4 separate regions of the Homo sapiens genome follow, and all the other regions are linked to region 3. The links are contacts of gene promoters, found by promoter capture Hi-C in blood cells and fetal thymus (Javierre and others, 2016). All regions are on one chromosome and are shown on one strand. Each heading gives the region's core, a stretch centred on a gene start or on the middle of the fragment in contact. The rest is flanking DNA. Distances are from core to core; before and after follow the strand shown.

What was found. The method cuts DNA at HindIII sites, captures the fragments that hold promoters and counts their contacts. A CHiCAGO score of 5 or more calls a contact.
Region 1: a fragment that was not itself captured here is called in contact with the fragment with the promoter of GLIPR1L2 in region 3 in 2 of 17 cell types (non-activated CD4 T cells and naive CD8 T cells); the score reaches 8.2 in non-activated CD4 T cells.
Region 2: a contact is called between a fragment that was not itself captured here and the fragment with the promoter of GLIPR1L2 in region 3, in 2 of 17 cell types (monocytes and M2 macrophages). The highest score is 6.7, in monocytes.
Region 4: a fragment that was not itself captured here is called in contact with the fragment with the promoter of GLIPR1L2 in region 3 in 2 of 17 cell types (naive CD8 T cells and naive B cells); the score reaches 6.1 in naive CD8 T cells.

Annotation. Positions count from the first base shown.
Region 1 is chr12:76,766,611-76,770,251 of GRCh38, forward strand. The region is part of intron 1 of ZDHHC17 (zDHHC palmitoyltransferase 17); the gene reads left to right. Among named protein-coding and RNA genes, the nearest start is that of ZDHHC17, 4.3 kb to the left of the region's middle. The HindIII fragment of the contact is 2,345 bases long and covers 96-2,440 here.
Region 2 is chr12:76,447,570-76,451,445 of GRCh38, forward strand. OSBPL8 (oxysterol binding protein like 8) reads right to left here. Exons shown (of 24, transcript NM_020841.5): 4 at 3,282-3,419. Among named protein-coding and RNA genes, the nearest start is that of BBS10, 100 kb to the left of the region's middle. The HindIII fragment of the contact is 2,413 bases long and covers 933-3,345 here.
Region 3 is chr12:75,389,433-75,393,497 of GRCh38, forward strand. It overlaps GLIPR1L2 (GLIPR1 like 2), which reads left to right and starts at 1,657. Exons shown (of 6, transcript NM_001270396.2): 1 at 1,657-1,918. The coding sequence starts at 1,685. It also overlaps a transcript of CAPS2 not described here. RefSeq lists a silencer at 1,459-1,631 and an enhancer at 1,589-1,718. The HindIII fragment of the contact is 6,589 bases long and covers 1-2,683 here.
Region 4 is chr12:76,583,638-76,587,402 of GRCh38, forward strand. The region is part of intron 3 of LOC105369850 (a long non-coding RNA gene); the gene reads left to right. Among named protein-coding and RNA genes, the nearest start is that of OSBPL8, 26 kb to the left of the region's middle. RefSeq lists a silencer at 368-568. The HindIII fragment of the contact is 2,068 bases long and covers 812-2,879 here.

The sequences.
Region 1 (3,641 bases), core at 18-2,517, 1.4 Mb after region 3:
AGAGAACATAGACTTTGGGTCAGACAGACTTGGATTCTAATTCTGGAAATTCGGTAACTAGCTAAGTGACCTGAGACAAGTGCTTAATTTCTTTAAGCTTCAGTTGTAATCAGAAAATGGAGATCCTGGCTGGGCTCGGAGGCTCACACCTGTAGTCCCAGCACTTTGGGAAGCCGAGGTGAGAGAATCACTTGAGCCCAGGAGTTCGAGACCATCCTGGGCAACATGGCAAAACTCTGTGTCTACAGAAAATACAAAAATTAGCTGAGCATGGTGGTACACGCCTGTAGTCCCAGCTAATCGGATGCTGAGGTGGGAGGATTGCTTGAGCCTGGAAGGTTGAGGCTGCAGTGAGCCATGATCGAGCAGCTGTACTCCATCCTGGGTGACAGAGCAAGATTATGTCTCAAAAAAAAAAAAAAAAGAAAAGAAAAGAAAATGGAGATGCTGCCTAGTTTACTTGGCTGTAAGGGATTAAGTGAGGCTATATGTTGAGGGTCAAGAACTGGCACATTGTAGGTGCTCAGTTAATGTTACTTCTTTTTTCTCTACCAGAAGAAAGGGAAGTGTTACACATTTATTTTGGTTTTGGTGACTGATTTAAAACTTATGTGGGTTTTAATTTAGTGGAATAGGATCTTGCAGGAACAAATTTCATTTCACTTTTTATCTTCCAATTTAATACTCTCACACAAAAACAGTTTTTCACTTTAGTATTTGTTAAGCAGATGAATTATTTGTGGGTAAAGAAATGAGCATTGCTTAAATCTCTTATTAGTATGCAAACTGCCCACTGTTAAAACCTTTCTTAGAGGATTATACAATTAGATAAACGCCTTTTTAGAGGTATTTTAGGTAAGATAATCTTACTTTTTAATGAATTAAATCATCCACTCATTTAGTTGGTCATTTAAACATTTGTTTGTCATGTTTGGGTAAGGAATTGTGCTGGAGTCTGTGTGAGACTTCAGGATATTTTTGGTGTTCAGTGAGAGGCAGTGTAGAATACTGGTTAAGAGCCAAAGTTGGCTGGGCGTGGTGGCTCACGCCTGTAATCCCAGGGTTTAGGGAGGCCGAGGCGGGCGGATCACCTGAGGTTCGGAGTTCAAGACCAACCTGACCAACATGGAGAAACCTTGTCTCTATTAAAAATACAAAATTAGCCATGCGTGGTGGCACATGCCTATAATCCCAGCTCCTCAGGAGGCTGAGGCAGGAGAATTGCTTGAACCCGGGAGGTGGAGGTTGCAGTGAGCCGAGATTGCACTCCAGCCTGGGCAACAAGAGCAAAACTCTCTTAAAAAAAAAAAAAATCCAAAGCTGTGGTGACAAACTGAAAATGTAGCTTCTGCAGCTTACTGTTATCATGGTCAAAGTACATTTTTCTCATTTGTAAAGTTGGGTTAATAGTGACACCTTTTACAGTTATTGTGAATATTAACTAGGCTAATGTTTATAAAGCAGTTTTCATAGACCTAGGCACATAGGCTGCCAAGCAAATTGTACCTTCTGAAGGCCCTGGCATATAGTGAATACTGAAAGGGAAGCTGCTGTTACTTTGTTTTCTTTTGAAATAGGTGATTATTTGTTTTATTGAAATGAAAGAAATTAAAGGCTCTTTGGATAAAGAAGAACTGATGATCAAGGGATTAGGGTACTAGTTCTAGCTCAGTGACCTTGAGCTAGTAGGTATTTAACTGGTCTCAGTTTTGTTGCTTTTAAGATAAAGTAGCTAGACTAGATGACCTCTAAGATTTCTTCAGACTCAAGTGTTCTGGTTTTAAATTGTGATTTTTCAATATAATCAACTTGAGCATCTGTCTACTAGGTACGTAGCATTGTGTTAGGTTATATGGGTTAAAATAACATAAAAAAGATAGCATATGTTTTCCAGAAGGTAAATAACTAGTTGGGAAGTTGTAGGCACGTGAAACACTGGACGATTCAAATAAGTACTGAATTAAGTAATGTAGCTTGTAAGTGGTGTCAGATTCCTGTCATTTAGAGTGGTTAGAAGAAAGGCTTCCGTAGAGGGACAGAGACCATATGTTGGTCTACTGGTCCAGCAGACTAGCCATGACCAGCTTCCATTTTACCTACTAGTACATCCTCAGTAAGTCATCTCAGCTCTTTGATAGAATGAGATCACAATATCCCCTTCTGCCACAGTATCACAGGGGCTATTTCAGAACCATCTGACTCAGAGCTTTGAACTGGATTGCCTAGATTATCTAGGGCTTTCATCTCTTTCTTTCTTCCTTTTTTCTCTATTTCAAAACTTCTGCTATTGCCTTTTTTTCTCATTTTCGTCTCTCTTTTTATGGTAACGTTTTTTATTTCACATTCATTTTATTATTTCTGATGATTTCTGTTTGAATATTAAATCAAACTATTGCTATTATCTACTGTCCTCACAGATTTCATAAAATCTACTTTTTGAAGCTTTTGGTTTTTTGCTTTAGTTTGAGATGGAGTTGCGCTCTTGTTGCCCAGGCTGAAGTGCAATGACGTGATCTCGGCTTACTGCAACCTCAGCCTCCTGCGTTCAAGCGATTCTCCTGCATCAGCCTCCCGAGTAGCTGGGATTACAGGTGCCTGCCACCACACGTGGCTAATTTTTTGTATTTCTAGTAGAGATGGGGTTTCACCATGTTGGCCAGGCTGGTCTGGAACGCCTGACCTCAGGTGATCCACCCGCCTCGGCCTCCCAAACTGCTGGGGTTACAGGCATGAGCCACCATGCTCGGCCATGAAGCTGTTCTTTAGTGAAAAGAATTTTGCCATTTTCTATTACTTTTTGCCCTATTATGTATATATTATATGTGTGTGTGTATATATATGTATTTGTACACATATAAGGTAATTCATTTGCTTTCAGAAAGCAGATACAAAATGACTTTGAAAGTTGTTTTTCTTCCCATAGGTTACCTGCAACTCTTTTCCTTCAAAGCACTTCTTTATGCAGTCACTAGGATTTGATGCCTTTTAAAAAATTCAGCAAAAATGTTATAGGTCATATAATAATAATCTAGATTTTAAAATAATGTATATTTTAAAATACTATATATTAAGCTTAGTAACTACTATGCTTAGTATAGTGACCACTGTTAAGCCCAGTAACCACTGAGCATTACTATTAAGCTTAGTAATCACTGAGTCAATAGATATAAAATTAAAATGTGATTAATTGGTGAGACTTCATGGATTGTGCTCAAAGCCAGAGTTGAAAATTACTGACCAAAAAATTGTTCTGGTTTTGAGAAATGTCATTTTCCTGATTCGGCTTGTTTTATTTTGTTCATTATTTTTATTTAATTTGGGAGGATCTCAAAAGTATTTATTAAGAGTGGACTGTGGAGTTGGTGGATATAAGAGTATATAGGTTAAAAGTGAGCAATGGTGTTAGGATTCAAATCTCAATTCTGCTCACTAGCTTGCAATCCTGGGCACGTTATTGAACTCTGCATCCCAATTTTCCAAACTAAAATGGGGGTATAATAACACCTACTTTATGAGGCTGTTGTGAGGATTAAGTGAGATAATACATGTGAAGTTCTGTGTCTGGCACTTAGTAAACAACAATAAGTGTTGGCTATTAATATTGTGGTAAAAAGTAGTACCTCAAATTGATAAACAATTGT
Region 2 (3,876 bases), core at 889-3,388, 1.1 Mb after region 3:
TTTCACTCTTATTGCCCAGGCTGGAGTGCAATGGCGCGATCTCGGCTCACTGCAACCTCTGCCTCCCAGGTTCAAGTGATTCCCCTGCCTCAGCCTCTCAAATAGCTAGGATTACAGGTGCCCGCCACCAAGCCTGGCTAATTTTTTTGTATTTTTAAGTAGAGATGGGGTTTCACCATGTTGGCCAGGCTGGTCTCGAACTCCTGACCTCAGGTAATCCACCCGCCTTGGCCTCCCAAAGTGCTGGGATTACAGGCATGAGCCACTGCACCCGGTCAGCCAAGTTTCTTAAAACCGTCAAAGACACAAAAGAAAACAAAAGTAAACAAGGAGACTCTTTAGGATTAAGGACGTAATGACATAACCAAATAAGATGTATGGACTTTATTTGGTTTCAGCAAGCCTACTGTAGAAAGATTTGGGGAAAACTAGGCAAAATTTAAATATAGACTAGGTGTTAGGTTATGTTAAGCAATTATCATCAGTTTTGTTAGATGTAATAAAGGTTTTATGGTTACATAAGAAAATGTGCTCATTTTTTAGAGACACATTAAGTATTTTGGGGTACGTCATGAAGTCTGTAATTTACTCTAAATATTCACGCTGTACCCTAAATAAATGAAACAAACAAAACAAAAGGTTAATAACTCCTTACATCTATACAATGGGTATATTAGTGTTCACTGTACTCTTTTTTTAACTTCCCTGTTTGCCTGAAAACATTCATAATAAATATAAACAAGTGTAGTTTTAATTATTAGTAACTAACCCTTTTGTTGGTTCATTAACTCCTAAGTTAAAGAATTCCTCTAAATATTCTAGTGCACAGATACATGCATCAGAGAAACCATATCTATTATAGCCAAAATTCTGATGCACAGTGCAAAAAAAAACCAGGTCAGTTGCATTGTTTCAGAATTTTATCTTAATGAAGCTTATTTATACCAGAGTGTGTATCATATATCGTTTTTCAGGTCTTCCAAAAAGCATTTTGGCAACAAAAATGCTAACTTTTCAAAAATACAATCGACAACTAAGCAATATATGTTATAGTAATTATTTTCATCTTGTTACATAAATTTTTATAGTTCCTACCATGCTATATGAAAGTGTTTCCATCTAATATATGACTAGATAAACATTTTCTATTGAAATAAAGTAGAGGATGGGTGCGGTGGCTCACGCCTGTAATCCCAGCACTTTGGGAGGCCAAGGTGGGCGGATCACAAGGTCAAGAGATCAAGACCATCCTGGCCAACACGGTGAAATCCCGTCTCTACTAAAAACACAAAAATTAGCTGGGCATGGTGGCATGCGCCTGTAATTCCAGCTACTCAGGAGGCTGAGGCAGGAGAATCGCTTGAACCCGGGAGATGGAGGTTGCAGTGAGCTGAGATCGCGCCACTGCACTCTAGCCTGGCGACAGAGCAAGACTCTGTCTCAAAAAATAAAGAAAGAAAGTAGAAAATGATCATGTAACTTACTATTTACAAGGTAGTACTCATTTGAAAAGTTACTAAAGCCAAATTTCAAAAGATAATTCATAAAGTTACAACATCAAAACTGACTAATTACAAAGTATGACAGAACTCTAAATTTAATTTTTAAAAATACTCAATAACCTAAGTATACATTAACTTTCAAAACACCAAATTTCATTTCTCAGTTTTAAAAGCAGAAGTCCTTCCACCACAGCTATGAGTAGTACCACAGGAGATTTCCGTACATTTGATTAAATAAACTTCAGCTGAGGAGCAGAATCCATTATACAAAACTTATCAATTATGAATTAGAAACTGTGATCCCTGAACTTCTGGGAGTACCCAAAGACCCTTCTAGAGGATCTGCAAGGTGAAAACTAGTTTCATAATACTTTTTCATTATGTTGCCATTTTCATTGATGGCACAAAAGCAATCTTGGGTAAAACTGCTGGCAACTTAGCATAAATCAAGGCAGAGGCACCAAACTGGAGTAGTAGGCACTGAATTCTTCAGTCATGCACTCACAGAAGAATGACAGTTTCACTTACAGATGTCCTTGATGAAGAAGTAAAAATTATTGCTCTTGAACCTTTAGTACGTAAGATTTTAATATTCTGTGCAACAGAATGAGAAGCATACATAAAGCCCTTCTCTGTACTATATTTTTTAATGTGTCAACACTTGGAAGATCTGCATAATTCAGTGAGCAAATATTTTCCAAATGACTAATGCATGATGTTACAAAATCATGCATGAGTAAAGAGCCATTCAAAATTCAAGAGTGAATTTTAACAGAGTATGAAAAGTGTACTGACAGCGTTTCAGATTCCAGATTGCAATTAACATAAAGAAAATTACTACTAGTCAAGTTTTGGCATATTATCAAAGAATATCTATAATTATGTATAAACCCCCCCCATATATATATATGCATGAGACCAGATTTTATTCATATACTTCAATCGGATCATCACATCACAACAGACTGCAGAAGCAGATACAAAAATGCAGGTGTCTTTTAAGCTAGACATTAAAGTGATTTGCAAAAACCGCCAAAAAGCAGTTCTTAATCATGGATGGTTTTGTCCCTCAAGGGATACTTGGCAACATCTGGAAACATTTCTGGTTGTCACAACTGGGGTAACTGCTATTGACATTTTCTGGGTAGAGGCCAGGGATACTGCTAAACATCATATAATGCATAGGACAGCCCTCCACAACAAAGAACTTTCCAGGCCAAAACAGTGCCAAGGTTGAGAAGTCCTGAAAATAGTTCGAAGGTTGAGAAGTCCTGGGATAAACCATTACCAACCTTCTCAATCAACTTTTTGGGGAGTAGAGGGAAAGAAAACACTGTAGTTCTTAATAAAAATGTTACTTACATTAACATGTAATGGGTTTATTACTTTAAATGAATTAAATTTTTAAATTTCTAGTTTTAATTTATAATATAATAAAATAGATATAACTCACATAAACAAAAGCACTTCACAGTCTTCAATAATTTTTAAGACTACAAAGGAACCATGAGACCACAAAGTGTGAGAATCGCCAAATTAGATGAATGATATAACTAACGAAGTATGTTGGAGAATATTAAAAAAAATTAAAAGTCTAAAGGAAAGTGTACTCATTTCAAGAGTATTATAGATGACCTAAACAAAACAAACAAAACCCCTTACAAAACCAAATAGTTAAAAAGAAAAAAAATATGATAGTCCCCAAATGTCATTCTCCCCTTCTCCCCTCCAAAAACAAAAACAAAAACAAGACAAAACATGAAAACCACAACTTCCTACCCTGGCTATGAGGACTTGCTGGACTAAGAGATGGCTGATGCAAATCTTTGGTTGGCGTTGGATAAGCTTCTTTTCCTTGGCGCTGACTCATCTTTCCTGGTGTCAGAAGCTGAGATTCGTCACTGTTTGCTACAACAGCTCAAGGAAAGAAGGGAAAAATAATTAGTACTGAAGTCACAGATTTACATAATAGTATAGTTAATAACATGGAATAAGATCAAAACTGAAATGGCCTTGGTGGTTATATTCATTTTACCAACTCAATACTTTAATAAATTCTCACAGTCATCTTGTTTTCATGTTGGTTTGTTACTGATCCAAGAAGAACTGACAGGTATGTTTGAGTCAAATATACAAATTATAGACATTATAATAATGAAAATACATATCCAACTGATAATGAAAGGCCTAAGGTTTACTGTGTGCCTTTCATTGTGCTATTTATTCTTTATATTTACCAACAAAATAAGCCAAAGCCAGTCATTTCCCAAAAAAAAAAATACAAATCGTCGATAAACATATAAAGATACTCAGCCTCATTAGTAATCAGAAAAACTACAAATTACTAGCAGTATAAAATAATATTTGACATTCG
Region 3 (4,065 bases), core at 407-2,906:
TGTCAGTGATGTTCCGGAGAGTATACCTAACACAGGAGGCTAGCAATAGTGGCTAAAATTTCTTCCAAATCTAAGATTGCATTATTCTATTTATACTTTTTCTTTAGCATTTTTTGCAGTCTAACAACAGTACCACCATAATAAAAGAATTGCATCTTTCAGCACTTGCCACCTTCACCCTTAAATAGGTTCTAGCCATACTAAAATACTTCTAGCGTTTAGGATCTTCCTCTCCTTAGGCACATTACATGCTTTTCCCTTTGTTTAGAATGCTATCTTAGACTTGTCTGTTTCACTTTCTGTATACAATTTCCAGAAAGGCTTCCCTGCTCCTCCACAAGAGTACCAAGCAATAGAATTTTGGCTTTGTATTTATCACGTTTTAAATACTGCCTGATTGCTAATTCACTAAATTGTAAGCTGCTTGAAAGCTGGATCTGTGTCTTGTCTACTGATCTTTCTCAATCACTTAAAACTTACTACTATGCAGTCATAGTAGTAAGTATTCAAGGGCATAAATGAAACCATCTTACATAGGTCTATTGTTTTTCAATTGTGTGCATCACAGACAATTTTTAAAAGCACTTTTCTTTTTATAAATGTTTGGCTAACCTGTTACAATGTTTTGTAGTAAAATTCTCTCCCAATGTCAATTTTCCATATCTGCTTAATGCTATTAAGCACAATATGTAATATGCAAACGTGTATTCCAAAACTAATACTTGCTTTTTTTCCATGCTTAGAATTTAAAGTCTTCAAAGCAAGTTGGTTTTGTTTTGTTTTGTTTTTGAGGAAAATGTTTGGAGGTAAACAGATCAGACCAAAATCAGCTAGATATTAGCCAATTTTGTCTGGAACAAAAAAAGAAAACAAAAGAGTTCGTTCTTACTGTGAATGCCACAATTAGTGAAAAAGATGAATCTTGATATTCCGGGCTGTCTGAATTGTGCTGATGAGAGAAGAAGTAGAAATGTTTTAACCTTTGAAGAGTTTGGTGATCCCTACTCTCCCTTCACTCCCATTTATTTTGTGGTTTCCCACAAAGGTTCATTTAAAAACTGAAAAAAATCTCATCAATTAAGTTGGCCTTAAGAACTTCTTTGGCCTTAAGAACTAGCAATATTTCTGTATTCCATTCTGTCCCTGAGGAAAATAAAAGGCAGGCCCTGCACCAAATTTCCAACTCAACAGGTAATGGGGAAAAAAAATTTAATTGAATTTGTATCTGTATCGCAGAAAAATCATTTCACCTGGCACAATTAGAAGGTTCCTCAGACCTGTTACTCAGCAATTGGCATTTACCATACAAACTGATGACTCATTAATAACGACATATCATTCAGTGTCAGAAATCAATTCGGGATAACATTTCACTACATTAGTTTAGTGAAAAGGGCTTACTCACGTAACACAAGTCTTTCTTTAGTTTGTCAGACATCTATTACCAGCTTTCTTCACTCTGCAGGTCTAGCTTTCCCCTCCTCTCCCCCTCCCCTACCCACTCTCCCCTCCCTCTTCTCTCCTCCCTCCTCCTTACCCCCTCCTCCCTCCTTTGTTTTTCCCTCCTCCCTCCTCCCTTTCTCCTTCCGGGAGGCGGGACAAGGCTTGCTTGCGTCCTCCGTAGATTGGCAGGTCACTGGGACGGCCAGCGCGTGCGCACTGGCCTGTCAGCGGCCGGTGGACCATGGAGGCCGCAAGGCCCTTCGCCCGGGAGTGGAGGGCCCAGTCCCTACCCCTGGCAGTAGGGGGCGTTTTGAAGCTGCGGCTCTGTGAGCTGTGGCTACTGCTACTGGGTTCTAGTTTGAACGCCAGATTTTTGCCAGACGAGGAGGACGTAGACTTTATCAACGAGTACGTGAACCTCCACAATGAGCTGCGGGGCGACGTCATTCCCCGAGGGTCTAACTTGCGCTTCATGGTGAGGCCGGAAGGCGGTTTGCCGACCCTTCCACTACCGTTGCCACAACGCCTCCCTGGATCTCGGGTAGTTGGGGCCACTGCTCTGAGGCTGAAGGATCGCGGAGAACCGCACTTTTAGCTTGGTTTTTAAAGTACACGTGAAGTTTACACAGAGAAAAACTGCGGACACTCTAACACATGCTTATTACCATGATATTACACAGGGCCAGGACTAAGGTGATGGAGGCACTGGCCTGAAGTGCAGATTTTAAGGGGGCGCCAATTCAAGAAAATGATATTTTAATGCAACGGGTTTTTAAAAATTAAAAATCAGTGCAAAAATATCAATATCAAGGGTAAAGAAAATGTTAAAAAATTTAACAAAGACAGGTTCCTTGGGTCTGGATTAGGGAAAAACAAGTGCGACACTCTCAGGGTGGTGCAAATCAAGATGAGATTCTGTTTGTATTTGAAATTTTTATTTTTAGCTTTTTCCATCATCGATGTCACATTAGCTTTGCCTTTTAAAAATGTTTGTTATCTTGATTTTTTTTTTTTGTGCCCATTCCAAATTTGGCTCCTAAGGAAGTGTCTCAGTTTCCTCACCCTAGTCTTGACCCTGATTTTGCCTTACCTTACAATGCGGTTCTTGCTTTCCCCCTCTTTTACACCCTATAGTCATTTAACAACTCAACTATTCCCTGGTTGCTATTGAGTTTTCCTGACTGTCATTAAAATGACTGAAAATCCGGCAAATAAATAACTGTCCTCTTAGGGAATTAGAAGCTTCAAACTTATAAATTATATTGCAAGGACTACTTTCCTAGACATGTCTTTTCTTCCTTCAGCATTAGTTCTTAGCACAAATTTCAGAAATGGGATAAATAAATTAAGGGTATGATATTTTTTATTAATTTAACACATAGCAATTGCTATGCTAAAGGGTAGTGCCAAATTTAGCAAATACCAGCTGTTCTGTTTTCACCACATCCTCACTGATTTGGACATGTTCAATTACTTGCTAAATGAATAAATTACAAAAATGGTCATTTGTTTTAATGTTGATTTTAAAATACTATTTTGATAGGACATACTTGAGTTCTTTCTTCGTCATTTCCTTTACCTTTTATATTGTCAGCATTTCCATGTCAGATTATATGCTGTCTTATAGAACTATGCTAGCATTTGGTTCTATCTGCTGAAGATACTTTTTTCTAAGCCAATTCTTTTTCTTTTGAATTCAATTATAGAGTTTGGGGATATTTGGGAGTTTCAACTAATTTCCCATTTTTTGTGACTAATTCTGTTTCTTCCCAATTTGAAGATTATCCTTACTCCTGAAAATTAATAAACACATAATACTTTCTAATACAACTTTTCATAGGTTTTCTATCTCATCTCTAAAAATTATATAGTATTTCAAACATAAGGTATATAAAATAATATACCTGTATACCCACAATCGATATTTTTAAATATAGACATTTTTAAAGGAATAGTATTTGATATATAGGTTAAAGTCCCACCCTAAATTTTTACCTTTTTCTTCTTTCTTGAAGTTAATGTATATTTTTCCCATGTATTTTATTAGGACATAAATATTAACTGTAAATAGTATAGTCTATCATAATAGTATGGCCTATTTAAAATGTTTCTTTAGCAGATTTGGACATCACTCAGCTTATTTAAACTCTTTTATTGGTTATTTTTAGTATTTTAATGTATGTACTTTTTATAAATTCCAAAAGTTAATACCTGTAAACTCCACCCAAATATTAATAAGATCTTAGAACACAAATTCTGAATACTTTCCATCCTTATTCATGCTATTGCCGTGTAGTACTTTTGTTCTACCTTGCTTTTAAATACCAAAAAAATTGTTGTTTTTAAAAAATTGTATTACAATATACAGGACATAACATTTACCATTTTAACCATTTTTAAGTGTATAGTTCAGTGGCATTAAGTACATTTGCATTGTTGTGCACCCATTACCACCACCTATCTCCAAAATTTTTTCGTCTTCCTGAACTGAGACTCCATACCCATCAAATAATTACTTTACTCTCCATCTCCCCTCCTCCCAGGCCTCTATCACCATTCTACTTTCTATTCCTATTAATTTGACTTCTTAAGGTACCAAATATAAGTGGAATCATATAATAT
Region 4 (3,765 bases), core at 596-3,095, 1.2 Mb after region 3:
CCCAATACCATCATTTTGGAGGTGAGGAGTTCAACATTTGAATTTTGGGGGAACATAAACATTCAGACCACAAGAACAATAATTTATTTGTTTATATTAAAAGGAACCATCTTCTCTGCCTCACAGTTTTCCTACCTGGCTCTTAAAATAGAAATATGTTTCTTTCAGAACTATAGAGTCAAGAGGAAATTTCATCTTTCTTTCTGCCACTTTCCCCAAGTGGAAGGAGTTTTGTATTTAATTGGTGATTTGGGGAGAAAAACATAAAACCCAAGCCATTTCTTGCCATCTTTTTCAAATCTTCCCACCCACAAGAAATTATATTCTGCTCAGTTCCTCAATATATGTCATAAACTAAAAACACACGGATTAGGGCCTATGCTTGTCTTCTAGAACAGGCCTGAGGCCTAACTCTCATTCTTTCTACTGTTGATCTCACCAAGCAGAAACAGTGATTCTACACAAGTCTATCCATCGTGCAGACTCAAATTCTCCTGTGGCGAGTCATCACCCATTTGGACTTAGGAAGTATTTGACCAGCTTGGCCAACATGGTGAAACCCCGTCTCTACCAAAAATACAAAAATTAGCTGGGCATGGTGGCAGGTGCCTGTAATCCCAGCTACTCGGGAGGCTGAGGCAGGAGAATTGCTTGAACCCAGGAGGCAGAGGTTGCAGTGAGCTGAGATCACGCCACTGCACTCCAGCCTGGGTGACAGAGTGAGACTCCGTCTAAAAAAAAAAAAAAGAAATATTGAAAAACCTGGTCATGGTTGTATATTATAATACATCCAATCAGCTTTATCTTAGGAAGCTTTTTTGAAATGAAGTCTCACTCTGTCACCCAGGCTGGAGTGCAATGGCATAATATCACTGCTCACTGCAGCCTCTACCTCCTTGGCTCAAGCGATCCTCCTACCTCAGTCTCCCAAGTAGCTGGGACTACAGACATATGCCACATGCCTGGCTAATTTTTCAAACATTTTGTAGAGATGGAGTCTCCCTATGCTAGGCTGATCTTGAACTCCTGGACTCAAGCAACTCTCCCACCTCGGCCTTCTGAAGTGCTGGGCTTATAGTCATGAGCCACCATGCCAAGCCGAGAAGTTGGTATTTTATCTTTTTGGCTTCCTATCAATTGGGTCTGAATTCAGGGAAGAGTTAAGATGTGTGAGCAGCTATCACTGCCTAAGCCCCATTAATGACAGGATAGTAATACATTTTTTAATAGGTAACTCTAACCAAAAGTAGTTGTTTTATGAGAACCTAGGTCTAGCAAAAGAAATAAACTTAAATCTTGCCAGTCTAACAATAAGGGAATAAAATATCCCAGCAGCCAAGTGTGGCAGCTTATGTCTGTAATCCCAGTATCTTGGGAGTCCGACACAGGAGGATTGCTTGAGCCCAGGAGGTCAAGGCTAAAGTGAGCCTTGGTTGTAGCACCATGTTAAAGCCTGGGTGACAGAGTGAGACCCTGTCTCAAAAAAAAAAAATTTTTTTTGTTTATTTATGAATGCCTACTGTGTGCAAGGCAGTGTTCAGAGGAGAAGTTTAAAGAGTTAGAATACTAATACTTTAAACAAAAGTTACCTGGTACTCTAATTTTATTGTTTGAGTTTTGAATTGCTATAATGATCAAGGCAAAGAAATATCATAATTATAACATTTGAGTGCTTATGGCTTGTCAAATGAGCAGTTTCCTGCGAAACAATATCTGATTGAATCCTCAAAACAACTCTGTGAGACAATACATGAGAATAGTCTAGGTTGTGCTGCAGTTGGGAGAAAAAGCAAATGTTTAACAAAAAGTTAGCTCTGGCTGCAGGCAACTCTCCAGGCAACTGTCTTCCATGCAACAACGTGATAATCCAGGCAGCTTCAACCTTGTGGTGCTGCCATCTTAAGATGAATCTTTTTCCATGGTTGCCACAGTCGGGAAAGAAAAAAATTTCATATCGACCTTTTACTGCCACATCCTGAAGGTGACACACGTAAAATCTACAGTTTTCACTGGCCAGACCAAGTCACATGGCTCCATTCAGTTGTAGGGTCGCTGAGGAATACAGTCAATCCACTGAGTGGCCAGAAAGGAAAGAGAAGTAAATATTGATTAACAAAGCAATATGTAGCATAAATAGCTATTATGACTGTTGTTTTTATATAGGTGAAGAAATGTAGGCTTAGAAAAATTAAGTTATTCATCCAAAGGTACATATAAGGTAAGTAGGGGAGCCTCAGCATATGGACCTATCTGACTCCAGAGCCTGTGCCTAACTTCTATCTTCCATTACCTCCCAGCACCGCACTGGAAGCCTGGCAGAACCTAGCCACCACTAGGGATATTTAATTCAATTCATATACATTCAGTTCAATTCAAATCAGCATATATTTGCTAAATGCTTTCTCTTTGCCAGGCATTGCAGCTGCATCTGGAGGAGGGTTGAGCTATTTCACCATATAGATCTCCTACGACTTTGAGACTGTGATGTAAAGAAATAGGCAACTGTGATGGTTATTTTATTTGACAACTTGGCTGGGCTGTGGTACCCAGATATTTGGTTAAACGTTATTCTGGATGTTTTGGTGAAGGTGTTTTTGGATGAGATTAACATTTTAACCAGTGGATTTTAAGTAAAGCAGATTACTTTCCATAATATGGACGGGCCTCATCAATCGGTTGAAGGCCTTCATAAATCAAAGACTGACCTCCCCAGAGAAGGAAGGAATTCTGCCAGCAGGTTGCCTTTGGACTCAAGCAGAAACTGAGTCCCCACAATCATGTGTGCCAATTCCTTAAAATAAACATCTATATCTATAATATCTATATGTATACACATTCTGTTGGTTTGGTTTCTCTGGACAACCCTAACTAATATAACAAGCTTAAAAATTAGTTCTATAAAACAGGGCTAAGAAATGATTCTTTATTATACTTTAAGAACAAGATCCTCTGCAATCCCTATTTACTTTTATCTTTGAATGTTAAGTAAAAATAGCAGAATTCTAAAATAACCTACAGAAATAAGTCAAGATTCATTATATTTTCTATAATACAAGAAGTTTTACAAAGCTATTCATCATAAAATACATAAATTTTTGCAAGGAACCTTGTGGACTGAAAAAACAGCCAAAACAAATCTGCCACATACAGGCCCCAGAATGTGGTTTTATAATCTGTCCACTTAGGAAACTGTTCCAATTATCTTCACAAATTCAGTATTGTGAGAATGTGTCTAGGTGTTAATTATCATTTTAGAAGGAAGTCAGCTCTCCTACACAGCTAAGAATGCTAACAGTCTCCAATTTTAACTTGTTCTCTTATACAAGATGCTGTTTTGGGAAGTATTTAGTTGCCCCCTGCTGGCCATACAATTGCAGGATTCATTTTTTAAAAAGTTCTCAGTAGATTGCAGATGATAATGATAAACTTCTGAAGAGATGCATTCAACTTTTTCATCAGATGAATTCACAATAGACTTCCAATGCTCAATTGAGATACGTAAGTTAATAAAAAAAATTTTTTTCCCCACCACCTGGTATAGGGTGAAATGTTCCAGCAGGAAGACTTTAAGCTAGATCAGTGGGAGAACAGGATGAGATGTAGGAGGAGTGACTGAGGGGCTTCACAGGCTCCCTTTCTTCTTTAACTTTTGTTTTAGGTTGAGGAGTACATGTGCACGTTTGTTATATAGGTAAACTCATGTCATGGGGGTTTGTTTTACAGATTATTTCGTTACCCTGGTACTAAGCCTAGTACCCAGAAGTT